Linked DNA regions of Homo sapiens: regions 1, 2, 4, 5, 6 and 7 are each linked to region 3. The links are contacts of gene promoters, found by promoter capture Hi-C in blood cells and fetal thymus (Javierre and others, 2016). All regions are on one chromosome and are shown on one strand. Each heading gives the region's core, a stretch centred on a gene start or on the middle of the fragment in contact. The rest is flanking DNA. Distances are from core to core; before and after follow the strand shown.

Region 1 (4,084 bases), core at 674-3,173, 300 kb before region 3:
GGTGGATGTTCCCTTCATTCACTGCTCCATCAAAATCACTTGAACCCCCAATGAATGGTAGCATTATATGATGCTTAATACATCTTAAAGGAGAAAACCAAATCATTTTTTTTCTATTCAAGTCTAATGAAGATCTATGTGAAAAATGGAGTTTTCTCTCTTACTCAAAATGAACAAAAGGTCTGTTAATAATGTTAGGATGTGACCTCACTGAGGTTAAAAATATTTGCTTATGTAAAAAATGGCAGGTAAACCATTCAGGACTAATGTAAGCAACAAGAAATATAAGAGAGAAGAGGAAATGAAAATGCAGTGGCAACAACAGACTTGGATTAACACCAGTATTTTCAAAAGAGCCCAAACAATTTCAGATTCAATAGAAACCACTTTGCCAAGGACTCCGATGCATTTCATCTATCAGCAGGCTTGCTGCCGTTTCCTAAAGAACGCCCCTGGGATCTGCCGTTTCCCCTTGGTTCCTATGCCAAAGCCAGCCCTGTTCTCTCTTCCTCATACTGTAGCCATCATTGTGTGGCCACAAAGCTGCCAGGTCGCTCTGTATGCTGCCACTGTTATAAACCACCCTCATGCACTCATGCATTTTTTTCTCCATCTGTAATGAAGGACATTACAGATCATTTATGAGATGACCATTGCTGAGCCTAAACAAGGAAACTCAGACTGGTCCTGGGTTGTTTGGTGACCTGCTGAGGCCCACAGGCCCACAGATATTTGATTTCTTTTTTGGAATCTTTTCTTTTTGGAATCTTTTGCTCTGACTGAGAGGGAGACGTGATGCCTAGAGTTGGGGAGTTCTAGGTCTCATTGGAAGGGATGTGGGGGGCTGTGCCCTTCTCTGGTTCCATGGACAGTTTTCTGAGCTCTTCTAAGAAAGAAGGGTGAACAACAGAAGCTGGGGAAGTTGCTTTTATAAAATGACCCATGATGCTGGGGTATGACTATATGATGGAAGGTGGAGGTGAGATGCCCAGAGAATGCTGCTTGGTCTTCCCCTCCCCGCCCCCAGGTGACAGTGTGTTGCAGACGTGTTTCCTACTGCTACAGAAAACTCAGCCTCTGCCTGGTCACATGTGGCATGGCAGCTTTGAGAACAGAAGCCTGTGATGAAGCAACTACAGGTTGGCCAGGAACCTGGTATAGATTAATGAGTGGGTAATCATATACTCTATCTGGGAGTATATGAGGGAGAATGAACTCAAAACATTGAAAAGAATGAGCCAATTGGGAATTTGAGACAGAGACTGCTAGGGCCCACCAATATCTGGGTGCTCTGCTCCTTCTGTGGGCATAGCTAGACAACATTTCCCCACCCCCTTGCATCTAGATGGGACCATGCAATTAGTCCTGGCCAGTGAAATGTGGCTGGAAGTGTTGCACACCACTTCCAGGCCTGCCTTCTTAAATCTTCTGTGAGATCATACATAGTCTCTCTTTATTTGTCTGCTGGCTAGATGCAGAGGATCTAGGAGAGAACTCTGAAGTCCTAGAGGGTAGCTGAGCCACAAGATGGGAGGAACCTGGATCCCTCAGTGACTGTGTGGACCAGTCTCTCATACCATACTACATCCCCATCTTTACTGCATTGTGATACAGAGGAAAAAATTAAAACTTTGTTATGTGAAACCACTGAGATTTGGAGCTTGCTTGTTACAGTTGAAGGAAACCAAAACATTTCTCCTCAAAACACTGAGGATTGCTAAGTTAAAAACACTAAAAATGCAGGGGAACACTCTGCCTCAGCCTCTATTTGCTTGACAGCAGGACATAAATCCTTCCTTACTGGACACTTGCTTATTGGCCCAGAGAAGGCAGCAGGAGGCACCAGAGGAATCTGGAAATAGATTCTACTATTTTCCACTTTCTCCCGCCTTTTCAAAGACGGGAATGTCTCTCTCTTTTGTCTTGACACTATGTACTATTTATGGCTCTTTGTTAAAACATTATTTAAGCAAAGCCTCTAAGCCACTGCCTCGAGAGAGAAATACTTTTGAGGCCTCTCCCACATGACAGGTACAGCACTTGTTAATAAACTTCTGCTTCTTTTTCTTTTATTATTGTGACTTTTGTTTTTAGGAGAGTGTCTCAACTAAGAACATAAAAATGCAAAGAAATAAATTATGTTTTCTCCCTTCCATAGTCGTTACCATACTGACTAATACAGAACTGAAGCTGAAAAGCCATGATGTAGAGAGAGGGGCCAAGATTATCTATTTCCTTCTTGAAAGTTTTTCCCTGAACTTTCCAGAAGTACAAATAAGAGTAAAAACATATCCCTGGACACAGGAGCTGGCGACCTAACTGGCTTGTTTTGAGTTTAAATTTCTTCTTAATGCCCTGAATGGAAATATTTGACTTCCTCTCTGTAATATATTCATGTTTGCTTCAATATAAAAATACTATTTATAAAGATTTAGCCCTCAAGTTAAATGGACTTTTAACCTGTGCCTTGGCATCCGCATGTAATAGTCACATTTAAGTTTGGCTCCAAAGATTACTTCCCTCCCTCTTTCCTGGTCATTTGGTAAAAAGCAAAGCGACTTCATGAAACCACCTATGTAGGGGTTCAGTAAGTTAGCACTCTTTAGATTTCAGATGCCTGCTTTCATTCTTTAAAAACAAAAATAAAAACAACTTTGATCCATTTTTTAATACTGATGTTATAATATTAAAATGTTTAATAACTTGGTTTGACAAAAAACAGCATATTTTTTAAAAAGTCTCGAGATTTGTTAAACAATACAAAATTACAAGGCCTGGTGTGGTGGCTCATGCCTGTAATCCCAGCATTTTGGGAGGCTGAGGTGGGCAGATCACCTGAGGTCAGGAGTTCAAGACCAGCCTGGCCAACATGGTGAAACCCCATCTCTACTAAAAATACAAAAATTAGCTGGGTGTGGTGGCAGGTGCCTGTAATCTCAGCTACTTGGGAAGCTGAGGTAGGAGAATCACTTGAACCTGGGAGGCAGAGGTTGCAGTGAGCTGAGACCGCACCATTACACTCCAGCCTGGCAACAAGAGCGAAACTCTGCCTCAAAAAAAAAAAAAAAAGAATATGAAATTACAGCTAGATAGGAGGCATGAGTGCTAGCGTTCTATAGCACTGTAGGATGACAAAGTTAACAATAATATATCACATAATTTTAAATAGCTAGAAAGAGGATAATGAATGTTCCCAACACAAAGAAATTAGAAATGTTTGAGATGATGGATATGCTAATTACTTTGATCTGATCACCTATACCTTATATGTATTGCAACATCACTATGTACCTTATAAATATGTATAATTATTATATGTCAATCAAAAATAACAAAATACATTGTCTGGACTTTTTATTGAAGCTATGTCCTTCTTTGGGGTGGGGCAGCCAAGGTGTGAGATGGCGAATGCCTTTTTGCTACCTTGTATTTACATCTCAGTGAATTTTCCTCGTGTTCTAACTTGGGTCAGACTGCCTGGGAGGGTGAGACTTTAGGCCAGAATCACAGCCTGGACCCTGGAGAGTCCTCTAAGCCAACACTTGACCTTCAAACAGGAATCCATCAAGACTACCTTAGATCAGGGAGGAGACACCTGAGCCAACTCTTCGCCAAACTGGAAACTCCCCATTCTCTTTATGTTTTCTCTCTCTCTCTCTCTTTTTTTGAGACAGGGTCTTGCTCTGTCACCCAGGCTGGAGTGAAGTGGTGTGATCTCGGCTCACTGCAGCCTTTGCCTCTCAGGTTCAAGCAATTCTTGTGCTTCAGCCTCCCTAGTGGCTGGGATTACAGGCGCCAGCCACCAACCCTGGCTAATTTTTGTATTTTTAGTAGAGACAGGGTTTCACCCTGTCATGTTGGTCAGGCTGGTCTTGAACTCTTGACCTCAAGTGATTTGCCCGCCTCAGCCTCTCAAAGTGCTGGGATTACAGGCGTGGCCTGTATGCCCGGCCCCTTTATGTTTTCACAGTGTCCTTCTTGGCTACTCCTTAATGATTTAGCTGGATGAATCTCTGAGAAATTCACTGTCCTCGGCAGCACAAGCTTGCTGAGCTGCTGCCATCAGCCAAGGGGTGAGTGTGAG
Region 2 (3,739 bases), core at 305-2,804, 350 kb before region 3:
TACCCGTTAGCAACTGAGGTTCGCTTTGCAGCAGGTTTCCTCACAGGGGCTCACTCATTGACCTGCCGCCAGCTGGTCTCTGTGGGTGTCGTCTGTGGTGGCAGGCAGCCTCCCCTCCCTGCAGAACTGGCTCACCTGGGAAGGGGAGCTCCAGCCGGGAGTCACTGTGCTGTTTTTCCTTACCGAGGCTCTGGTTGTATTTTGGCAACCAGGCTAGCCACGTTAAATGAGGAAACAAATGCGGTCCAAAAGAAATCCGGATGTGCAGCTGAAAGCAGTTGGATTGGTTGAGGAAGTTCTTTCAGGTGGCGCTGAGATGTGTCACGTGGGCCCACAGCTTTGGTGTGCTGTTGCTGGGCTTCCAGGTTTCCTTTCTGAAGTGGAACTTTACCTTGTGGGCAGGGATGTGGCTCCCCAGGTGAGGAGGCCTTGACGTGGCACAGCATGCCCTTTGGTGAGGAGGTTTGTGGGCTGGGCCGCCCTCTGGCAGGGCCGGTTTACCCCTGAGGGCAAGGCTGGTGGGAGGCACCTTCCCGGACTGGTAAAGATGAAGTGCTGAAGGCCTCAAGTTTCTCCCAGTCAGGATGCGCCCCAGACTGAATGAGAGGGAGCGTCACAAACCCGAATAAAGGACCACAGAGATCCCTGGAGAAACTTTGACACTCTCCACCTCCACCAAATAGAGCACTGCTTCCCAATGGCACCATTTATCTGTTTGTTTTACGTAAGGGAGGTTTGTTACAGATAAGACATAGGTAGGGGTTTTGTTGCTGTCATCACAGTTGAACGTATTTGTTGAAACGCTTACCCAAATGCTACAGGTTATCAAGTGGGTAAAACCAGCACATCATTTCCCTGAAAATACATGGGAATCTGATCAATCCATGCAGCTGCTTTTTTGTTTATCGTGGGCCAGCCCCAGGAGGAGTGTTTTTACCTTCATCTTAGAGCAGTCCCCTGCTCTGCCTACTGCACTCTACTGGTTCTTGGGAGAGCTATTTCTGTGAGCATGTTCTGCAGGGGGTTGCTTGTCATCTCTTAACCCAATTATGAGGGAACAGGTACTACAGTCATGAAGAACCCAAGGTCTGTTGTCAGGCTACCCGGATTTAAGTCTCAGTTCTACCACTTGCTGGCTGTGTGACCTTAGACAAGTTACTTAACCTCTCTGTTTCTCAGTTCATTTGTAAAATTAGAAAATTAATGATGATAGTTCCCTTAGGGTTGCAGTGAAGATTAATGGAGTTTTTGTTGGGTACTCAGTGCAGTGCGTTATCCACGGTAGGCACTAAGTCAATGTTAGTATGATGTGGATAGGATGAGGATACTAGACAAAATACTGTGGAGAAGTGAGCAGGTTACCGTTGGGGGGAACCTTAGATTATTGGTGGAGAGAGAAAACAATTTGCTAAGTGATTTCAACATGAAAAGGCATTAGAAGGGTAAGTCAAAAGTTTATCAACATTGGTTTTGGTAAAATTACAAGCATTCACTGAGTACCTGATCCACACGACTCACTGTGCTAGAGGCTAGGACTCCATAGAGGACCAGTGGATGCACCTGTCCTCCCAGAGGGGCACGTGGCCAAAGCGCTCAGGGTTATGGATGATTTTTTATTTTCTTCTTTTCCACATTTTCTAAGTTTTCTATGATCACATTATCAGAAAATATATTTTTTAATGAAACTGTGGCTTCCAGCGTATTCGAAGGGCTAGGAGTATCAGTGTGAGCAGGCTCATTGAGGAACAAAGCCAGGCAGTGGCTTCATGAGGAGGTGGGACTGAAGAATAGCCGGACCTAGACGTGCTCAGAGCAGGGGCAGGGCTGGCCCAGGAGGAAGTCCAGGAAGCGTCCATCTTGGCTGCCTCAGCTCCGTTTCCTTAGAAATGGCTCCATGTGGTGGAAGGTAGATCGGCTCTGCCCTGTTTTGCTCCCATGCTGTGTGGCCTCTAACAGGTACACTTGGCCTCAGTGTCCCCAGCTTTAAAATGGGGGCAATACTGATTTAGCTGTCTTGTGGATTCATGGGGAACTTTGAAGTCAGACTGAGAACCCAAAGGATTGTCAAAACCCAGACACTCTGCTAAATTTAGTCTCAGTTTCTGGCTCCTAACAGGTATTAGGAAATGTTTATTGGATGGGTAAATGACTGTGGATGCAGCCGGCCACCTTCCCTCGAGTGACCCACATTCTACTCCACTCCAGTGACCTCCTACTTGCTAATGTTGATTGCTCAGAGAGGTATGATTTTTACCTATTTTTTCTTGCTACTGGCATGTCGTATCCAAATGGCACATGTATGCACATGACAATGCCAGGCAGGCTGTTGTTGGCATCCACGAGCAGGTACTGCTACTTGTAGTGGTTTCAGAAACCCCCATCAATCACTTTGGTAAGTGTGAGTTGGATAATCGTCAGAACCTTGCATTTTTCTTAAGTGACCCTCCATTGACAGTTGCTGGTCATACACGATTGAGCTGGAGAATGAAACAATGGTTACGGACCTAAATAATGGTGATCATGCCGTTCAGTTTTCCCCACCATCTTTTCATGTTTTATATTTAGTGTCAACTGACAGACTTACTGCTGGGTAGAAAACAGTTTACAAGAGAAGAAATAGCCTACTATTTCCAATTTAGCAGTGAAACTAGACTTTATCTTTGCCCTTTCGAATTCTCTCAAAGTGTTATGGGCTTAACAAGGAACTATTGCTTCCTCGAGTGTGTTCTTCTCCTTACCAACGCTGTGGACATTAGGGTCCTGAGTCCCCTATTGCTCTTGCAGTTTTTTGTGCTGTTTGGTTGTTGTTGCTTCCATGGCCCGGCCTGGAGTTGGGTCCTGTGGTCCTTGTAGATTCTCACTCAGTTGGCCCAAGTCCTCTCCTGGGCTTGCTGTGTGACTCTGCGTTTCTTCTCTCAAGAAAGAGACATTTCTGCCAGAAAAATCCCCCTAATTCTGGTTCACTGGCATAAGCAAGATTGATATTTTCAGTTTGCCACAAGTGGCTGGAGAGCTGCGGCTTAAATCCCACAGGAAAATCCTGTGTCCCAGAAAAAGTCCAATTCTTGCCTCTACTCATGGAGTCTGGTCAAGAGCCTGGAAAAGAGAAAGAATCCACCTGTCAGAAGCTGCCTGGGTGGATCAGGGAAAGTCTGATGAGAAAAGATTATGCACACATGTGGGTTTCATAATAAACATGGAATATTGACAGTTTATCTTTTTTTTCTTTTTTCCTTTTTTTTTTTCTCATTCATGTTATGAACATTCAAACCATTCTCTTTTTTAGAGAGTATGATGGCCTCAAAAGGTAAGAGAGTGCCTCCTCCTGCCCATTGTGCTGCATCCATCTTGCCACCCTTTTTTCCTTAGGGTCAAGAAGACTGACTGACAGACCAGGACCCCACCAGGGGTTTCCCCATACCGCCAGCATCATAATCATGAAGATATATGGTGCCACATTTCCCAAATGCTTTAGAGTCCTACCACCCCTGGCTCTTGGACTAACAGTATTCCCATCACCTGGGAGTGTGTTAGAGATGCAGAATTGGGTCCCACTTGAGACCTGTTGAATCATCATCTGCGTTTGAGGTAGATTGCTGAGCACATTATCCACACCTACACATAGTGAAGGAGAAGAGAGACTGCCTAAGGGGAGTCCCTGGAAGGTACATACAAGGATCTCTGAAGCCACAGGGCACTTGCTCGATGCACAAAAGCCATGGTTGATTGGCCGTGCTCT
Region 3 (4,248 bases), core at 1,745-4,244:
CAGGAATTGGGGTGGTTGGAGTGACCAGTACCTTTATTCAGCATAAGAGATGTTCTTCTAGGACCACATGTCCCTGGCAGGACACCAGGAGATGTGATAAAAGTTACAATTCACACTAACTGGTTGTGTATTGCTAAATCCAATAAACTATTTTCATTCCTCATCTTGTTCCACTTCTCAGCGGAACATAGGTAACCACCTTCTCCTGATCTGCCTCTTTCCTGATTTTCAGGCTGTTCCTTGATCTCAATCCCCTTTGCCAACTCCTCCTCCATTACCTGATTTTTAAATGTTGGAGTTGCTCAAGGCTCAGTCTAGGCCATGGGTGTCCAACCCTTTGGATGCAAGAACTTTTTTGCTTACCTGTGGTGGCGGACATCACAAAAATTATGCATGGGCCTTTTTTTTGTTTTTGTTTTTGTTTTAGCTCATCAGCTATCATTAGTTTTAGTGTATTTTATGTGTGGCCCAAGACAATTTTTCTTCTTCCAGTGTGGCCCAAGGAAGCCAAAAGGTTGGACACCCATGGTCTAGGCCATTTTCTCTATTCATTTGGCAATTTGCTCAAGACATTCTCATCCCCTCCAATGGCTTCAAATATTCTGATCATCTTTAAACCCAGACCAGATCTCTCTTCTGAGCTTCAGAAGTGCTTAGAACAGGGCCTAGCACACAGTAAGTACTTAATAAATGTTTGCTAATATTATTCTGTTCACTTGACTGTTTAGCAAGCATTTCAAATTCAAAATGTTCAAACTGAACTTAAAATTTTCTCCTCCCAAGCCGGATTTTCCTCTTTTCTCTGCAAACATCACCTGCATCTACCTGGTGCCAAAAACCTGAGTCATCTTTGGTATTCTCTTCACACTCAATCACTATGCTTTAACAATGTTATCTCCAAATTAGTTCTCAAATCCATCCACCCTGCCCTGCCACCACCCTAGTTCAAGATGCCATTCATTATCTTTGGCATAAATTGCTGCAAAAACTTCTTGAACTCTCCACATTCACTCTTCCCTCCTTCAAATCTATTTTCCATGTGACCAGAATGGGCTTTTGGAGATAGAAATCTATCTTTCATGTGCTTTAGTTCTGCAGTGTGTCTTATTTGGCTTCTGTGGTCCTGGAAGATGTGGCCCTTCCACATATCTCCAGTCTTCATGCCACATTCCCCTTACTAAACTCCAGCCACACTGACTGAAAGATCCAGCTTCCTCTTTCTTCAGGTCCTTTGCAGAAGATGCTGTTCCCTGTTTTGTGTGCTCCCCACCTCTACAATCATTCAGGTCTCAACTTAAAAGTCACATTTTCAGGCAGGGCTTTCCTGAGCATCCTGGTTAGGTCAGGTACCCTGGTCATACGCCCCATTGCACTTTGCATGCCTCCTTTTTAAGATGGACCATATACCTGTAACTGAATAATCCCTTGTTTAATATCTCTTCCCCTTGCCCTGACTGTAAGCATTTGGACTCCCTTCCTACAGTTGGGAAATTCCCTACCTTACGAGTTTGGGAATAGGGAGTATCAGAGCCTGACTCCCATTTTTGAGGCTTCAAAGGCCAGAAGCTGGTTCTCTCAGTTTTGCTTAAAATCACGGCATGGGTACGTGGCCAAAACTTAGCCAATCGGGACATTCTGGGGCTTTCAATTAGAAGCTAGTGCCCAAGACAGCAGGGACTCCAGAGAGGCTGACACATTTGGGTTTCAGGAACTGCAGGGATGTACAGAGGCAGGCAGTGTCCAGGGCAGGGGGTGGTGGACAATACAGCATCCACGTTTACCAAGTTCAGCAGTGGCGTGGAAGAGGCTCCGTGGGCTGGTTCTGTTGTGTGATGCCCACTGTATTACAGTTGCTGTGCCTCCCTTTATGCTTGTCCGTTTTGTCAGCTTTGTACTCCTGCCTTCCTGGTCATTCTGTGAGCTCTCCAATAGCCTTTCAACACATTCTTTTTTTTTTTTTTTTTTTTTTTTTTGCTTAAATCAGCCAGTTTCTGTTGCTTGCAACTAAGAACTCACGATGTTAGCAGAGATCATGTTTGTCTCATTCGACGCTGTCAAAAAGGTTTTGAACATAATCTATTGCACCTCTGTCCTACAGACTGAGAGTTCCTCGAAACAGCCACTTTACTCAATCATGTTTATACCCTTAGTGTTAAGTGCCGGAAGAATATGTACTAAATGAATGAATGGACTGGGCTGAAGAGCAATGATTTACCAACACTGGTTATAGTTCATGCAGCCCCTTGACCTAACTGAACACAGCATTATTACAAATAAGACATGGTCCCAGCTTTCAGGACCTCTTAGATGAGGAGCGAAAGGCAGGTAAACGGATTTTCACAATGCCAGGTGAGAAGTGCTGTAACAAAGGTTATGTACAGAACAGAAGGCAACCAATTCCCAGACACGGGTCAGAGAAGACTCTCCAGAAGTACCAACTGTATGCAATCTGTTAAGTTAGTGGACGAGAGGCCAAATCGGTGCAGACCGAGCAGCCGGTGCAAAGGCCAGGAGGGGGAAAGCTCCAGGCAGCCCGAGAGGGCACCGTGGCCCGGGCAGGGCCGGGCAGTGGGCGCAGCGGAGGAGGTGGACCCGCCCAGGAGGCGGAAGCCGCGTCCTAGTACCCTCATCAAGAAGAACTGCATTCCTGGCCCGATCGGCCACGTGTGCCCCCGAGGAAGCGCCTTCTGGGCATCCCGGCCCCGGCGTGGGTAGCGCGGGAGGGGGCACTCACCTGCAGGCGGGCCACACAGAAGAACGCCGCCGAGGGGTTTCGGAGGTGGATCCTCTCTGTCAGCAGGTTGCTGCCGTAGGCAAAGTACAGAAAACTCTCCTCATCTGGACCCGTGACGTCCTTGCAGCCCGAGTTGGCCATATCCCACTACGCCCCTGCACTGGAGCCTGAAGCAGAGTGTAAGGAACGGCCAGAGAGCGCAACACTGGGGCCCACTACCCCGGCGCAGTGACCGCCGCGCGGCAGCCTCAGGGTTAGGGGACTGGCGGGAAGCGTGGGCCGGTCGAGTCAGGAGCGAGCGCTCTCCTGATTGGCTGCCGGTCCCCACCGACCTGAGTCGCCCCCTTTGATTGGCCATCCCCACGGCCTTCCCTCCGCCTTCCGCCGAGACTCAGAAATAGTCTGTCCTGAAGCAATCCGGCGCTGGCTCCTCATTGGACACGACCTACTGATGTCCCGCCCCTCCTTGCTCAAGGCTTCCTCTGATTGAGGGGTGGACAGGCACTCCTCACAGGCGGGTCGGGTCCCATGGACACTGGCTGAAGGTCGTGGCGCGTGACTGGTTTCTTCGCTCTGGGGTGCTTGTGTGTGGTTCTTTGGTACTTTCTGTGCCTTAGGAAGTTCTGGTCAGATCTGAGGCGAAACAGCGGCCCAGGCGACTCCATCAACGGCTCCCTCATCCGGCAGCTCGCCGGGTCCTGCCTTCCTGGCCTAGAGGAGTCGGGCAGGACGGGTCCGTTCACCCTTTCTGCTGGTTCCGGCACCCCCAGCACTGGTCATCAATCTGACCCCTTTCCACGGACCCGTCGCCTGCTGGAGCGGCCCCTCTGAATGCTTGGGACTCCCTTCCCTGTTACATGGAAGTTACATGCCTGGGCTTAAATCCCGACGCTGCCATTTACTAGCCAAGTAACTTTGGGCACCTCTGGTCTCCGTTTCCTCTTTTTAAAAATCGGGATCATAATATAAGTTAGGGTCACAGTAGAAACCCCTATATTGTGTTTTGGTTACCCCCTCCCACACACACACACATCCTGGGTGTATTTTTTAAAACCTATATTGTTAACTTTTGAATGAACATAAGGGCATAGGAACATTGTCTATCCTTGACACCCAGCTATTAATCTCTAAATACCACCCCCCACTAAAAGGTACCAAGTGATCCTTCGAGAAATGACTGATGCCAGGTCAGGAGCTAGGAGTGAATGAGGACAACTTGGAACATCTTGTGTCAGAAGCTCAGGACGCCTCTCAAGACGAACGAGGTCCTTCTAAAAGGACATGGGAACCAGCCTGAAGTTGCCCACTGGCCAAAATTAGAACAATTTGAGAATCAAAAATAACAATGACTGCAAACTGAAAAATGATTGGAAACTTTAAACATAAAAAAGCCATTCCCCCCAAAGAGTAATCCAAATTAAAAAAAAAACTATAACTTCATTTGCCACACTATTGGTGGTGACTATTACACCAACTTTACTCTGCAAAGTGATAATTTAAGAAAACAAACAGGT
Region 4 (4,070 bases), core at 1,261-3,760, 330 kb before region 3:
GACCACAGAGAGTGCCACACCAATGAGCAATGAGTGATGCCCCAGTGACAGCTCTCTCCATTTTTATTCATCTTTCATTCCAGCCACTCACCGAAGGGGCATGAGTCCAAACAGTTGGACATTGCTCTGAGTAACAGAGCCAGAATCTCCTTTTCATCCAGCCTTGCCATTGTCACCCATGAACCCAGTTTGTGAGCTTGACATGTTTTTCTTAGGATGAGCTCTGCCCACTGAGGCTCCTTGGGTCCTCCTGTAAGGAAGCTCCTGGCAGATCCAACCTCCTGACATACCAATATGTCCAGAAACAACATTAGCTGGGTCTTGCCATCCCCCTGAAATAGGGTGGGTAATTCCTTTGGGTGGCCCTAAGGTGCTGAGTGGAGGGGATTTAGCCAGGGCAGAGGAATGCTAAAGTCCCGAAAGTCTCCCTTCCCACACAGAAGTACTTTGGTGAGGAGGCTGTGGGTGAGGTGACTCTCTACACCTATGAAAGCTCTTTTGCTTAGGGTTGACCATTAAAAAGTGATTTCTTGACCCTCAGGGTAACAAAAGCCTGGCCCACCAATCAAGCCAGCAAGTTTCAAACTTTAAGGCTCCTAAGAATCACCTGGTGGTGGGGCCAGAGCGGAGGGTTGGTGCTGTGAAACATGCAGATTCTTGGGCTGCGCTCCAGAATCTGGAGACAGAATCTGGACACAGGAAGCTGCAAGTTTACAAATACTCCAGGTTTACAGTTTACAAATATGTCAGGCCGTCCTCATGTAGGTGGTTCATGGACCACACTTTAAGAAACTCTGGGTTGAGCCGGCCTCCAGGCTCACCATGTCATTCACTATGTCTACAGGGAGCCAAGATTCATCACAACGTGACTGGGTGCCAGGAGCTGGGCAAAATTCCTTCCTGATCCTAACACATCTCATTCTATAAAAATAAAATCCTTGTACAGATGCCACAGTGATCTCCATTAACATCTCAAAACTTGGGGAAAAAAAAGTCTCTCTTCTAAGCTCACATGGTGACAGAGCTGGGGGCAGCTAGTTGTGCCTGACTCCAAAGCATGGTCTCTCATCATAGGATGTCACATTGCTTCTGTGACATTTAGGGGATATGAATGAGCAGAGGCCAAGTTGTATTTGGCTGCATGCTTGATTGCGTAGAAAAATGACGACACTACCCTTGGTACATCTATTGGCCCCAACAGGAAGGAGATGAAAGTATTGCAAAGGGAACAGTGAGCCTAGACTGAATCAGAGGACTCCCAGAAATTCGCTGCACTCTCATGATATAATTATGCCATCAGGTTGGCCAGTTGAGGATTACACTTCAGAAGAAGGCAGATGTCATTATCTAAATAGGCCATTCTGTACTCATTTCTTTGTTTGCTTGTTTCTTGTCAGTCCATCCACTGGATCATAAACCTAATGAAGGCAAAGCTCTGTTTGTCCTGTTCTTCACAGAATCCCCAGTGTTTAGCACAGTCCTGGCCTTCTAGAAACCTTTGTCGAATGAATGAATGCATGGGTCATGGGGAGATGAAAGGCAGTGTTACTCTTTCTCTGGGGGGACATGGGAAGGCTGCTTCACTCTCAGATCAGTGCACTCTCATTCATGTGTTGAGTGGCAGGTGCTGGAAGTCAGAGCATCTGAAATGCAAGCTCCTGTGCCCCTTCCCTGGACCTCAGGTCTCCAACATTGGGGCATGTGGTTGGTAAGTCTCTGAGATTCTCAGGTATATCAGGGAATAGGAACTGGAGGGGGTGGATGGTACAGGTCTCTGTGCCCCCACCCCATGATCCCTAGATGACCATCCAGAAAGTGTCATCAGCCAATTGGAAAGTCATGAAGCAGACACAGCCCTAGACTATTCTAGTGGGAAGGCAAGAACATGTGCTGTGTCCCCGCCTGCTTTCCAACCTAAGGTAGAGGCTGTCCCAGGCACAAGAGCACTTTCAGGTCACTGGTGTAGCTTTTCCAAGGCTGCCTGCCTCTGCACCATCTCTGGGAAGATTCCGAAACTGCCCCATTCCAGTGGGGTGGCCTAGGGGCAGAAAAATGCTCCATGTGCCTCCCAGGCAGAGGTGGGAGCTTGGGGTGGCATTTCTTTAATGAAGTCACCTAGGTTTTCACATCTAGAACTGTGGACATCCAGGCTCCTGCTCACTGCTCTGAGTCACCGGAAGCCTGGAATGATGAGGCTTTTTTTCAAACACTATCTAAGAATCTTTGATGAATCCTCATCATCTGCCATCAGGCACCACGATTTCATGATCCCCAAAGGAGTAGGGCAGGTTCCTGAAGATCTCCCGGGGTCGGTCCACTGGCGCTGGGCCACTGACTCCATGGAAGTGGTTGGTGCAGCTGGCCTTCGAGACTCTGTGCCTTCAGAACCTCATATAGTCTGGCTGTGTCCCCCACCCAAAATTTCATCTTGAATTGTAATTCCCATAATCCCCATAATCCTTAAGTGCCAAGGGCGAGACCAGGGGGAGGTAATTGGATCATGGGGGCGGCCCCCCTGTGCAGTTCTCATGATAAGTGAGTCTCATGAGATCTGATGGTTTTATAAGCATCTGGCATTTCCACTGCTGGCACTCACTCTGTCCTGCTGCCCTGTGAAGAAGGTGCCTGCCTTTCCTTTGCCTTCTGCCATGGTTGTTAAGTTTCCTGAGGCCTCCCCAGTAAGTGGAACTGTGAGCCAATTAAATCTCTTTCCTTCATACATTACCCAGTCTCAGGTATTTATTCATAGCAGTGAGAACTGACTAATACAAAACCCTATTTGTTTTTCGCTTCCATCTGCTTTCCTTTTCCAGTTACTTCATTCTAATTGGTGTTCCTTTCCTACTTCTGGGTTCGTACCTCCCTTCTCATTACTGCTGTGACACATTCTCCCTCTACTGACTGGCAGGCCTGCCCTTCTCCCTGGTGACTGTTCAGGCAGGCCTTAGTGACCACGTGTGTTCACCCTAACCATAGACTTGACCCTTCTGCTTCAAACCCCATTGGAAATTGGCATTTCCTTGCTATTCTGAAAGATGGGAATGGGAATTTGGATTTGAGAGAACTGTAATAGAGCTCTGACACCTTCCTAGAGTCTGGGTGGCAGACTGGGTTCTGACTGGGACCAGATTCCACTTGTCCTTCCTCCTGGCAGGGTGTGTGTTAACTTCAGGGAGCCCAAGTCATTGTAACTCGTGTGCACAGACAACTAGAATCTGTGCCCAAGATGGGTCAGTGAGTCTCGAGTGATGATTCAAATTCATTTTCTTGCCAGGCAAACAAAATCTCTGACTTGCCTGGACTCCCTGTGAAGCTAGCTGCAGCTGCCAGTGCTGGTCTGTGGTGGCCCCAGGCTATGGGATTTGAACAGCTGCCTGCTAACAGCACCACCTCCTCTCCCGGATTTATCTTGCACCATTGCGCCCACAGCTGGGCCTGTGCAGAATGTACAGCATGATGCTGATGCTGTTCAGGCTGCCAGCCCATTGGAAGCACAGCAAATGACTTCTATTTATAGAGAAGGCATTCCTGGGCCACACACAGCACTCTTGGCCTGCTGAGAAGTCGGCCAAGTCCCTGACAGACACCAAGGGGCAAGACTGCAAGCCTCCTCTGCCAGAGAAGGCATTGTTCTGTCGCACACAATGGTAGAGCGGCCCTGGCATGATGTCAGATGAGTTGACAGTAGCAGCAGCTGCCTGTACGTTCCCTCTCCTCGTTTACAGCTGAGCTCTGCCAAACCCAGGGAGCAGTCCGGAGTTTTAGGTTTGGATTTTGGAAAATGAATTGCACCAAGAGGCCAGGACCGTCTTGCTTCAGTTGGCTTAGTAAGGAAATGGCCACAAGCCATAGGTGGTAATTTAGCAGTGGCTGCCTGAGTCGTTAGGGGAATGTAACCACAAAAGGCAGTAGAACGGGCAGCCAGGGCCATTGCAGGGCACAGTCACAGTGGCTGGCCAGGAGGTCTGATGGGGAGGCCTTTCCTTCCTGAAGACCCAGCCTCCCCTGGAATCCTCCCATTTCCCGAGGCCTAGCTGGTGGCACCCAAAACCCACGAGAGAGCTGCAACA
Region 5 (3,803 bases), core at 654-3,153, 370 kb before region 3:
GAGACGACCTTGCGTTCAGGTGAAGGGTGAATGTGGAACCAGCTACGCTTCCCTCTCTGCCTACCTCCTCCTACTGCATAACCACAAGGCTATGTGGATGGAGCAGATTTATCAAAAACTAGGGCTAATTTAACGGACTTACAATATAGGAGTGAATCAAAGGTCAAATTATATGTTAACATCAAACTTACACTAGAATAAAAGCCATGGAGAACTTCAAAACAGAGATGGGCAGAAGAGTCAGCATTAGCAGGACAGTCTAGGGTGGCCTTTGCATTCCATACTGAGCTCCTGATGTCCTAGCCAGTGGGGTTTGAATATGTCTCCTCTTCTTGCCAACACACATCTCCCAAAGGCAAATGGTGATTTTCAGAGACAGCAAAGTCCAGATTTCTATAAATGAACAGAAACGTTCCTTAAATACAATGAAGACTGTACAACTCTGCCTACTGGTGGGGATAAGTTTTTTTGTCTGTTTGTTTTGTTTTTTGAGATAGGGTTTCCCTCTGTCACCTAGGCTGGAGGGCAGTGGTGTGATCATGGCTCACTGCAGCCTCGACTTCGAGGGCTCAAGGGATTCTCCCACCTCAGCCTCCCAAGTAGCTGGGACTACAGGCACATGCCACCATGCCCAGCTAATTTTTGTATTTTTAGTAGAGACAGGTTTTCACCATGTTGCCCAGGCTGGTCTCAAACTCCTGGGCTCGGTGATCCACCCACCTTGGCCTCCCAAAGTGGTGGGATTACAGGTGTGAGCCACCACGCCTGGCTGGGGAGAAGTTTTAATTTTCCTTCTACTTCCAAACCATGGCCAAAGGCTATGGGAACACAAGAAAGGGGGTATGGGTAGCCCTGGTGTTTCCTCACCTACTGGCTGCACAAAACACCTGGCTAGAGTTCTGAAATGACCACTGCCCTGTGCATGAGGCCTAAATACACCCCTACAACCTGGGATGCCTCACAGGACTCTCCCCAAACAGGAGGGAGGCAGGGCAAAGGTTTATGATCTTCTTAGCTAAGCAACTGGTGGCTTTACCAGTTGTTCTAAGGAAACAAAATTTCAAGCAACTTCTGCAGATGAACTTTCCAGGATGAATTTCAGCTGCTTTATGTGCATACCCTTTCCACTAGTTAGTAAAAATGACCAAAACACGACTGTTGCAAGACTTTTCTCTCTAAATCTGTGGTTCTCAAGTAGGGGTAATTTTGCACTCAGGGGACATTTGGCAATGTCTGGAGAAATTTTTGCTTGTCACAGTGGAGAGAGGGGAGGGTAGAGGGAGATGCTACAGGCATCCAGTGGGTGGAGGCCAGGGAATGTGGCTAAAAATCCTGCAATGTGCAGGACAGCCTCCAACAACAAAGAATTTTTGGCTTCAAATATCAATAGTGCTGCTGCTGAGAAACCCTGCTCTAAAGACTTGGAAAAAAAAATGAGATTTAGGTTCATCTGTGACCAATATTACCAGTCATATCACTCCTGAATTTCACTTTAAAAATTCATTAGCTGATCTTCTTACACATCATCCCTAAGAAGTAGATTAAGAGTAATAATGGCATTTACTGAGTTCTTACTATGTGCTAGGTTCTGGGATAAGGACTTTATATACTTTATCTCACTGTTGTCCCTGTTTTCAGAAAAGAAAACTGAGCTCCGAGCAATGAAGGAAGTTGCAGATGCACATAAAACTTAAAATGGCAGAGGGAGGAATCAATGCAGACATGGAGTTCTGAAGCTTTTGCTGTTGCTCTCAGTGCATTTCTAAGGAAACCCAACGGTATCCATTTCATTGACCAATTGCTTTGTACCCAAAATTTTATTTTTCATAAGAGTTTTTCATTTTCTGACAAAAACTATTTGTTAAATAAACATAACTTCATAATTCTGATCACATCACTTGGAGCAAATTTGACTGATACATTTTAAAACACATGGATTAAAAAAAAAACTCCTTCTTTCCCGAAAAAGGAAAAAAGGAATGTATTTTTCATATTTTCATCTCCAATTTAAGGAATTCATTTTTGGAACACATATTATGCTTTAAATGGTGGTGCCAGGTAAAACTGCAAGGAAGCTTGTGCTATCTGGAGACACCCATACTTTTTTTTTTTAAGGACCATTTTGTAACTTTACAACAGCATATTGCATTTTTATATTCATGTGCCTGTCTCCTTCATTGTCCTGTGTATTAGTTTTCTACTGCTGCATGAAGAATTTAAACAGACCTAACAGCTTAAAACAACACCCATTTAATAGCCCACAGTTCTGAAAGTCGGAAGTCCCAGCACAGCCATGGCATCACTGGGTTCTCGCTCAGGTTCTGCGAAGGCTGCAATCATGGTAATAGTCAGGCTCAGTTCTTGTCTGGAAAAGACAACAAGTTTGAGAAAAAAATCTGCTTTTCAAGCTCATTCGGGTTGTTGGCAGAATTCAGTTCCTTGCAACATTGGCCTAGGCAAATAATTTATGACTAAAACCCCAAAGGAAGTGCAACAAAAACAAGAATAGACAAATGGGCCTTAATTAAACTAAAAAGCTTCTGCACAGTAAAAGAAACAATCAACAGAGTAAATAGACAACCTACAGAATGAGAGAAAATATTTGCAAACTACGCATCTGACAAAGGACTAATATCCAGAATCTACAAGGAACTCAAACAACTCAACAAGAAAAAAAAAAAACCCATTAAAAAGTGGGCAAAGGACATGAACAGATATTTCTCAAAAAAGACATACAAGTGGCCAACGAACATATGAAAAAATGCTCAACATCCACTAATTATCAGAGAAATGCACATTAAAACCACAATGAGATACAATCTCACACCAGTCAAAATGGCTATGATTAAAAAGTCAAAAAACAGCAGATGTTGGTGAGGGTGCAGAGAAAAGGAAACATATATACGTGTTGGTGGGAATGTAAATTCGTGCACAGTGCCTGGTTCAGAAGACACACTTTACAGAAAAAAGCTGGCTGAATGTTTATAACGTGTCTGTGTTTGTAGTGTTCAAGTCCTGAGGGCGAGGACCCTAGTGCATTTTCTGCAATCCAGTAATGCCTGTCCAGTATATGGCAGCCAGTGAGCACTCAACAGGTGCAATCGTTGGGCCACACACTCTTGTTTTAAAATGTGCTTTATCCTCTTGACCTTTTTAGGTTATGCAATGTGAATTCAAGCTGAATAATACTGAAGCCAGTCTTATGAGGCTCATTTCTAAGAAATATTCAGCTTTACGTAACGCAAATAAAAAATCACACACGCCCTTTGCAAGTGAACATTCATATTAGTGTCTGATAAATGCATTAAGAAGACACATTCCCTTAAATCAATCGGAGAACAGAACTTTGGTTTCTGCAAAAAGAAAAGCTCCCTTTTCCTTAGATTTTCTCAGCTCCTCCACTGCTAGCCCCAGACAAGGTCCAAGTTATCTGCAGTTCTATGGCCTCCCTTGCATTTAAATCGCATTTGGGCAAACGCTTCCTGGGCTTTCTAACTCCACAGAAACGCTAACCAGGTATTGGGCGCTCGCACCGCTTCCAGGTAACCCGCGGAGCTGCGGATTCCAGGCTCGCGCTGTGACGTCACCGGGCTCGCAAGCCGCGGCGCGGTCTCAGGCTCCGGTGATTGGCTGGGGCCCATGACGTCACGGCCCGGGGCGGCACCGCGATGGCCAGGGCCCCGGGATGCTCCGGGTTTGTTTAAAAATAAAGGGGGGGCGGGAGCGCCCAGGAAAATCCGGGCGCCCGCGGGGGTGCCGGCCGCTCCTCCCGCCGCCCCGCGTCCCGGCCCGGCCGCGCCAAC
Region 6 (3,696 bases), core at 1,020-3,519, 490 kb before region 3:
ATTCATTTCCATAAGGAAAGATCCAAATGGCTAGATTCTTCATCTGAATCAGAAATCATTGTTTCTCGTTATTTTCATGGCAACCCCGCATTTCGTTTAATCAGAGGGTATTTTATAGCACTGATTTACGCAGTAGGCATAAATCAGTGTGTCCACCTGCTACACACGATAAAACCCTAAACCAAAACAACAGTGATAATAACCATCACCCTCCCTCCTCCCCCTCGAAAAACCAAAAACACTTTCTTCAGTGCTAAGAATTAACTATTAACTATCATGCTAAAGGTCAAGACTTAATGCATATTTCAAAAGAATTTAAATCAAACCACAGCTTTTCTTACAAATATACCTATACAGAGCAGATAATCAGAGGCACAAAGTGTCACTGTACCCCTCTCCTTCCACTACCTGTCCATCTTCCTCACTTTTGGTATAAAATTTAGAATAACAGGTAAGAAAATCAGTACAACTGCTGAGGAAATTGGTGTTGAAGAATTTTTCACAAAATCAGTTATCTCCCAAATAAACTTTATTTTGAAAAGAATATCACAATATAGTCATGTAAATTTAAATATGGCACACTGAGCAGTATTGACGCAAATTATATAGTCATGTAACCATGTTTCGGTCAATGTACAATATATATATGATGGTGGCCCCACAGATTATAATGGAGTTGAAAAATTCCTGTCACCTGCTAGGGATGTCTTGATCCTGACCCTGCATAGGCCTAGGCTAGTGTGTTTGTCTTGGTTTTTGACCAAAAAGTTTAAAAATTCAAAATTTAAATAGATAAAAGCTTATATAATAAGGATATAAGGAAAATATTTTTGTACAGCTATGCAATGTGTGTTTTAAGCTACGTTATTACTAGAAGAGTCCAAAAATTGTTTTTAAATAAGTTTCTAAACTAGAAAATTTACAGTAAGCTAAGGTTAGTTTTTTATTATTTCTATAAAAATTATAGAATTTTTTTTTTTGAGACAGAGTCTTGCTCCTCTGTCACCCAGACTAGAGTGCAGTGGTTCGATCTTGGCTCACTGCAACCTCCACCTCCTGGATTCAAGCAATTCTCCTGCCTCAGCCTCTCAATTAGCTGGGACTACACGCATGTGCCACCACACCTGGCTAATTATCGTATTTTTAGTAGAGATGGGGTTTAGCCATGTTGGCCCGGCTGGTCCCAAACTCATGACCTCGAGTGATCCACCCACCTTGGCCTCCCATAATGCTGGGATTATAGGCATAAGGCACCATGCCCAACCAGAAGAAAAACATTTTTTATAAATTTTAGTGTCACCTAAGTGTACGGTGTTTATAAAGTCTACAGTAGTGTACAGTAATGTCCTAGGCCTTTACATTCACTCACCACTGACTCATCCAGAGCAACTTCCAGTTCTGTAAGCTCCGTTAGTAAGTGCCCTATACAGGTATACCATATATATATATATACACACACCATATATATATATACTATATATATATATACCATATATATGGTATATATATATATATAGTATATATATATATATATATTTTTTTTTTTAGATGGGGAGTCACTCTGTCACCCAGGCTGGAGTGCAGTGGTATGATCATGGCTCACTGCAGCCTTGACCTTGCCAGGCTCAGGTGATCCTCCAACCTCAGCTTTTGTACTTTTAGCAGAGACGGGGTTTCGCCATGTTGCCCAGGCTGGTCTTGAGCTTCTGGGCTCAAGCAATCCACCTGCTGAGGCAGCCTCCCAAAGTGCTAGGATTACAGGCGTGAACCACTGCACCTGACCAGATTTTTTACAAAATCTTTTATACCATATTGTTATTGTTGTAGTATCTTTTCTGTGTTTAGATGTTTGAATAAACAGACACTTGCCATTGTGTTACAATTGCCTACATGATTCAGAACAGCAACATGCTGTAGCCTAGGAGCAATAGGCTATATACATGTCCTACATGTGTAGCAGGCTACACTATCTAGGTTTGTGTAAGTACACTCTATGATGTTCCCACAACGATGAAATAACCTAATTAGACATTTCTCAGAGTGCATCTCCATCATTAAGTGAGGTATGACTGTACATGTGAAGTCACAGTTCATGTCTGATTATTCCCACTAATAGAAGAGTACAAAGGTACAGTGAAACCAAAAAAAAGAGCAGATAACTTAAAAACCATAACTTGTGCATATGTTTTCATTTTATACTTGTGTCCAAATGTTTAGATGAGAACTGATACAAATTCACAGGTTTTTAAAAATGCTGCCTGAATAATCAAAACTCTTTTTACTTTTCTTGCCCTACTATAGATAGCATCAGTAATGTTTATACAGAGTAGCACCATCGGACAAACTACTTTCCCTTCTCCCATCATAGAGTATAAGGCTGTCTGTATTATGGCTTAAAACATTAGCAATGACTTAATAGTTTTCAACATACAGCTGATTTTGTTGGAGAAAGGTGTTACAGTATAGTCTTGTTAAGAACTTTATGTTTTACTGAGGAAAATGTCAACATATAATCAGTGAAAGTGGTCTACATATGATGTAATAATTGTTCATAATTCTTTTTAAACAACAAATGGGGGTAAATATGAATGAAAGAAGTAAAACACATCTGGAACCTCGCGTTGTTCAGGGTTTTTGAGGCAATTCAGAGCTAACTGCAAGATTATGCTATGAAACTGAAGCCATTTCTATATCATAGTGAGAATTCTAATGTACCAGAAACAGGCAGAAAGCCATCTTCAGAGAATGAAGACTCAAAGATAAACAACGGCACAGCAAACTGAAGAGAGAATTAGACCCCAGGGAAATTTTCACTTTTCATTAGTAGAGGGCAGTAGAAGACACTGAACTTGGGGACTGAATACTGGTTCTGCAGGTTAGTGCTGACCCTGGGCATAACAGTCAATCTTTTTGAATGACAATTTCCTCGTCTATAAATTAGGTACAGTGAGATCCACCAGCTTGTTTTATGACTCAGAGCCATGAAAAGCGAAGATAATAATGCACTTAATATCATTTTGTACACTATAAAGGGCTACTCTTAGAAAATGAAGATTTGATAACTTTAAAAAAAAGAATTAAAGATAAAAGCCAATTTAAAATAAAATTATATATATTTTTTTCTTTTTTAAAATCCAGGATAGGTATTTATTCAATAGTAGCTGCTGTAGGTCTGCTTCTTTTTTTTTTTTTGAGATGGAGTCTTGCTCTGTCACCCAGGCTGGAGTGCAGTGGCACAATCTTGGCTCACTGCAACCTCCGCCTCCCGGGTTCAAGCAAATCTCCTGTCTCAGCCTCCCGAGTAGCTGGGACTACAGGTGTGCACCACCACGCCTGGCTAATTTTTGTATTTTTAGTAGAGACAAGGTTTCACCATGTTGGCCAGGCTGGTCTTGAACTCCTGATCTCAAGTGATCCACCCTCCTTGGCCCCCAAAGTGCTGGGATTACAGGCATGAGCCACCACACCCAGCTAACTTCAGTTTTTGATGAGACAGAAATGGGAAAATGTAGACTGGTTTACTACTTTATCTTATGATACAATGTTATTGTAGTATAATATACTATAGACTACCCATTAAAGAACCAGGAAGGATATTCCGCTAGCCTTAAGAAGTAAATATTGAATATAAATATAACTTTCTACCTCATCTATAACATATTGATACATTTTATTACAAAGAAACTCACACATAAA
Region 7 (4,212 bases), core at 629-3,128, 470 kb before region 3:
TTCCACAGCGGAAAGATCCTTTATCAAAGTCCTCAGTGCAAACACTTTCCCTTTGTCACCTTCAGAGTCATCTGCGTGCACACCAGGGTGTCAAGAGTCCCAACTCCACAGTTTCAAAGCTCTGCACAAGGTTTTTTATTTTCTCGTTGAGCATTTCCTTTTGTTTTACAGACTCAGAAATTACCGTTAAATGAATGCAAATATTTGCAACTTTCTTGCCGTGCCTTACAGATTGGCTTTAAAATAGTCCCCGCCCTTTTTTTCTAGTTTGTGGAGGTAAAAGCTTCATATCTTGAGAAGGTTGTAACTGTTCTACAGCTGTGAAAATTATTCAGAACGATCATTTTTGTCATGTGTGCAACTAGTATTTAATACAAGCCTACTATATGCTGGAAACTGTGCTAGCCACTTTTTTGGAAGTAAACTTTTTATCACAGAAAATGAATTAGGTCTTTAAAATTTTAAAGGCAGTGTGTTTGAAAGCAGAAATGTTCCCAGTATCCCTTAGAGTGGGTGAGAGACGTTTTCTTTCTTTTGTGGGATAGTTTTTAAAAGGTTGTAGTATGGTAATGCGCCGGGTGTTTTAAGAATGGGTGTGTGTGGGAGGATCAGTTGGCATACATAGTAACTTCGAGGAGGTCACACAGCACAGCCAAAGGTGCCCCTATTGGGCGTACCCAGAATCTCTTCCCTTTGCTTAGTGTAATTAGCAGTGAGTTCACCTGTTTATTTTTTTTCTGTAATCATTAATAGAGACTAAATGAGAAGAGGTTTTTCTTGTTTGCGTCAAGGACCTTCAGTGATGTCTGCAATTAGATTAGATGAGAATAACTCAAAGCTAGGCTTTGGTTTGGTGGATGACAGAGGCTGATCAACACTGCTAACCTAAGGGGAGGAGGCTCGACCTGGCAGTTTTCCTTCTGAGGTCTCTCTAAGCTCTCAGATGCATATACTTGAGTAAAATTTAGTTCCTGATCCTTCACTCCTTTCCATTACACACACTTTTTTTCATTCATCTTCAACATTCTTCTTTTTTTCCCATTCTTCCCCATCCCCAACTTTTTTTGTTGTTTTGTGGGGTTTTTTCCCCCTCTTTTCCTTCTCCTTTCTATATAGAAAGTTTAGTCTCTTGATACAGTAACTATTTCCTGGTAGTGAAATGCTTTTGCTGTTGTTGTTGCTGACTGTCCTTGTGTATCCTTCAATAAAGCAGAACTCTCTAGAAGGATCTTTTGGAATCTTTGTTATTTGATTCCTATCTGTTCTGTTGGAAAAGAGTCTACTTTTTTCTTCCCAAAGTAAGAGAAGTTAATGCTGTGAGTGGTGCTAGGGTGGAAACCCTGAAGAAGAGGGCACTGGAGCCATTGCCAGAGACAGCTGTCTCTACGTGATGCTGCTTGTTCCCTTAGCCCACGTGCCCCGTCCTTGTAGGCATACTGTTCATAGAAGCCCATCACACCACTGGGTATTTTCCAGATATACATAGAATGATGGTTCGGCATATTCTCTCCTTTTAGGAGATAAATTTACTTGGGAAAGAAGTGGTAATAGCCTAGGAGGATCACATGCATTCTTGTTTCCTCCACCCTCCACTTTTCTACTTGTTCTTCGGAAGTGAGCATGTTGTGTTAGTGACAAGTTACTTTTTCTTTTTCTGAAGCTTGTTTTAAAAAGTAACTTTTTTTTTCTTGTAGGTTTGCACATACTAACTTTAAAATACATACAATCCCAATCCAAGTTTTTGTTCATTCTGAATTTTTCTCCAAAGGTAGTACGTAACCCATGCCTCTGTATGGTTTGTGTATTTGTCATGCTGACAGCTTGATATGGGATGCCTTGTGTCAAATTTGAGTGAAGTTAGGAAATCAGTTTATCACTTGGTCTTTTGAATCCTTAGGGGATGTTGTTAATTTCATTTACCATCTACTGTGCTAGGCACAGGGGAAGCAATGTTGAACAAAGCCCATGCCCTTCTTGAGCCTACAGTCTGGTGGGGGAAGAAAGATATTTATTGGTTAAGTGGTTAGAACCATGTTTCATTGTGTGTGATTGATTGGGGAGGAGGGAGGGCAGAGAGGCTAGTACGGGTTGTTAGAGAAAGCTTCTTTGAGGAAAAATTTAAGCAGAGTCTGAAGGATAAATCAAGCTGTTAATAGTTCGCTGGAGAGGCCAAGGCAGAGGTGTAGTTAGAGGAAATAAAGAAGAACTTTTCAGGCACAGGGAATGCCAGTGTCAAGGCCCCAAAGCAGAATGGAGACGTGCGAGTTTGAGGAAAGGAAAGAGGACCCATCTGGCTGAGAGCTGAGGAGAGTGAGGCTCCAACAAAGATGCAGGGGTGTGCGGGAGGCTAGATATTTCAGGGCCTCATAGGCTGGTTTAAACACTGTGATGTGATTGTGTGTGTGCATGTGGGTACATGCATGCATGCGTCTGTGAGAGAGAAATGATGAGATTGTTTAAAAGCTTACTCTGGCTTTAGCGTAGCGTAGAACATTTTCTGGTTACATCTTTATATCTCTCCTGCTGCATTTATTGTACTTCACTAAATACTATGTATTATTATTTTGTGAGCTTCTTTTGCCTCTTGAATTTTAAATCGATAGGTATTAATTACTGAAAGTTAGAATTCATCAAGCCCTGATAATAGCGTCTGAGGTTTATGTGAGTGTATTTCTAGAAGAGAAAAGAAGTCTCTTCCCTTAAATGCTAAGCGTATTCAGGTACTCTATCCTCCTTCAATGAAAAATACAAAAAAAAAAAAGTTTACATGTATTTTCGTTTACAGTCTGGTTTCATCCTGCCTTTTGGACATTCCGGGATTTAGTGCCAGTACCTTTCTTTAGATGTTAGAAGATTAAACTTGGGATGAAGAGAGTAAATTAAAAACATGTTACAGATTCCCACATTGTGTGAGACATACTTCTAAAGAAGCACTGTGTTTGTTATTTGTGTCTTTCAAGACCTAAAATTTAGTCAAGGAGTATTATACATGTAGGGCTACACATTAATACTCTAGAACGCTGGTTCAGGAGTCAGAGAGACCTGAAGCCTGGCAAACAGCCCTATTACTGCCAACTGCAGGGTCACTTTAGCATCCTGAGCCTTAGTATCTTCCTCCATTTAAAATAATGGGATTTACTAGTTTATAATTGTAAGAACTGTTAAAAATTTATTAGTACTTACAATGTGCCAAGCACTTTTCTAAACATTTTACATGGATTAACTCAGTCTTTGCAGCAATTTCAAAAAACAGTTGCCTTTATTATGCCCATTTTCCAGATGAAGACACTGAGATATAGAGACGTGGGTTTGCTGAAGGTCACACAGCCACTTATTAAGTGGCTTCAGAGTCAGTGCTCCATTAGACAATACTTTTAAAGGTCCTTCTTGCTTGATCATTATGTAATTCTAGCTGATTCATAATGTACCTATATTTAAAGTATGTTTGACCTAGAATAGCAGACTATTTCGGGGGTGGGAAGTGGGGAGGAATTCAGAAGTGAAGAAAGCTTTGACTGCCCAATGTTGTGCATATGTTTTGCCACGAGGAAATTTTCTAACCTGTGCTTTCTACTTTGTAGTTTTAGGTCCTTTTCCTGCCCACTCAGCTGATAGGAGGGCTGCTGTTGTGAACTCCAGCCAGCCGAAGGCTGCTTGTGCCTCTCCAGCAGGTTAAAGCTCAAGCACATTGCATTACTGCATTCTGAAAATAACAAAAGCCTGCATCATACTGGCCAGATGGTTTTCATTAAGGATGTGCTATAATTTTGTTTCCCCTCAGGTGGAGGAAGGTGACTCTTGCCCTATATACTATATATACTAGTGCTGTGTAAACAGTACCAGGAAGACATCTGGAGTATGAGGATTCTTGGTTTCACAACCACTGGTCAACCCTTTTTGTTGTTGTTAACATTTTAACATCTTTATGGAGATAATTCATAAACCATAAAATTCATCCATTTAAAATGTACAAGTCAGTGATTTTAGTATATATAAAAAGTGTAACTATTACCATGATCAATTTTAGAACATTTTCATTATCCCAGAAAGAAACCCAGTACCCATTAGCAGTCACTCCTACACCTACACCTGCCCTTCACTGTTGGCAACCACTAATCTGTCTGCACAGATTTGCCTCTTCTAGGCAGTTTATATAAATGGAATTATATAATATGTGGTCTTTTGTGGCTGGCTGCTTTCCCGTAGCATAAT

Evidence for each region. Contacts are between HindIII fragments. The CHiCAGO score rates a contact against its expected background, and 5 or more counts as called.
Region 1: a contact is called between a fragment that was not itself captured here and the fragment with the promoter of GGCT in region 3, in 1 of 17 cell types (total CD4 T cells). The highest score is 5.6, in total CD4 T cells.
Region 2: a contact is called between a fragment that was not itself captured here and the fragment with the promoter of GGCT in region 3, in 11 of 17 cell types (naive B cells, neutrophils, total B cells and 8 more). The highest score is 12.9, in naive B cells.
Region 4: a fragment that was not itself captured here is called in contact with the fragment with the promoter of GGCT in region 3 in 2 of 17 cell types (neutrophils and total B cells); the score reaches 7.1 in neutrophils.
Region 5: a contact is called between a fragment that was not itself captured here and the fragment with the promoter of GGCT in region 3, in 9 of 17 cell types (total B cells, non-activated CD4 T cells, total CD8 T cells and 6 more). The highest score is 12.5, in total B cells.
Region 6: a contact is called between a fragment that was not itself captured here and the fragment with the promoter of GGCT in region 3, in 1 of 17 cell types (neutrophils). The highest score is 7.4, in neutrophils.
Region 7: a contact is called between a fragment that was not itself captured here and the fragment with the promoter of GGCT in region 3, in 6 of 17 cell types (total CD4 T cells, naive CD4 T cells, total B cells and 3 more). The highest score is 7.3, in total CD4 T cells.

What each region holds. Positions count from the first base shown.
Region 1 is chr7:30,201,061-30,205,144 of GRCh38, forward strand. It overlaps LOC124901607 (a long non-coding RNA gene), which reads left to right. Exons shown (of 3, transcript XR_007060274.1): 1 at 1-4,084. Among named protein-coding and RNA genes, the nearest start is that of MTURN, 68 kb to the left of the region's middle. The HindIII fragment of the contact is 4,238 bases long and covers 1-4,042 here.
Region 2 is chr7:30,148,921-30,152,659 of GRCh38, forward strand. All of the region lies in intron 2 of MTURN (maturin, neural progenitor differentiation regulator homolog), which reads left to right. Among named protein-coding and RNA genes, the nearest start is that of MTURN, 16 kb to the left of the region's middle. RefSeq lists an enhancer at 369-868. The HindIII fragment of the contact is 4,934 bases long and covers 1-3,739 here.
Region 3 is chr7:30,501,835-30,506,082 of GRCh38, forward strand. GGCT (gamma-glutamylcyclotransferase) reads right to left here and starts at 2,995. Exons shown (of 4, transcript NM_024051.4): 1 at 2,735-2,995. The coding sequence starts at 2,875. RefSeq lists enhancers at 2,203-3,082, 2,731-2,940, 3,083-3,961, 3,381-3,470 and a silencer at 2,401-2,580. The HindIII fragment of the contact is 6,754 bases long and covers 1-4,248 here.
Region 4 is chr7:30,169,806-30,173,875 of GRCh38, forward strand. No RefSeq gene overlaps it. Among named protein-coding and RNA genes, the nearest start is that of MTURN, 37 kb to the left of the region's middle. RefSeq lists an enhancer at 1-103. The HindIII fragment of the contact is 7,030 bases long and covers 1-4,070 here.
Region 5 is chr7:30,131,091-30,134,893 of GRCh38, forward strand. LOC105375216 (a long non-coding RNA gene) reads right to left here and starts at 3,624. Exons shown (of 3, transcript XR_927146.3): 1 at 3,514-3,624; 2 at 2,227-2,365; 3 at 1-393. RefSeq lists a silencer at 3,794-3,803. The HindIII fragment of the contact is 339 bases long and covers 1,735-2,073 here.
Region 6 is chr7:30,010,076-30,013,771 of GRCh38, forward strand. FKBP14 (FKBP prolyl isomerase 14) reads right to left here. Exons shown (of 4, transcript NM_017946.4): 4 at 512-3,696. The region is part of intron 2 of FKBP14-AS1 (FKBP14 antisense RNA 1); the gene reads left to right. Among named protein-coding and RNA genes, the nearest start is that of FKBP14, 15 kb to the right of the region's middle. The HindIII fragment of the contact is 2,945 bases long and covers 798-3,696 here.
Region 7 is chr7:30,029,223-30,033,434 of GRCh38, forward strand. All of the region lies in intron 1 of PLEKHA8 (pleckstrin homology domain containing A8), which reads left to right. Among named protein-coding and RNA genes, the nearest start is that of PLEKHA8, 2.9 kb to the left of the region's middle. The HindIII fragment of the contact is 441 bases long and covers 1,659-2,099 here.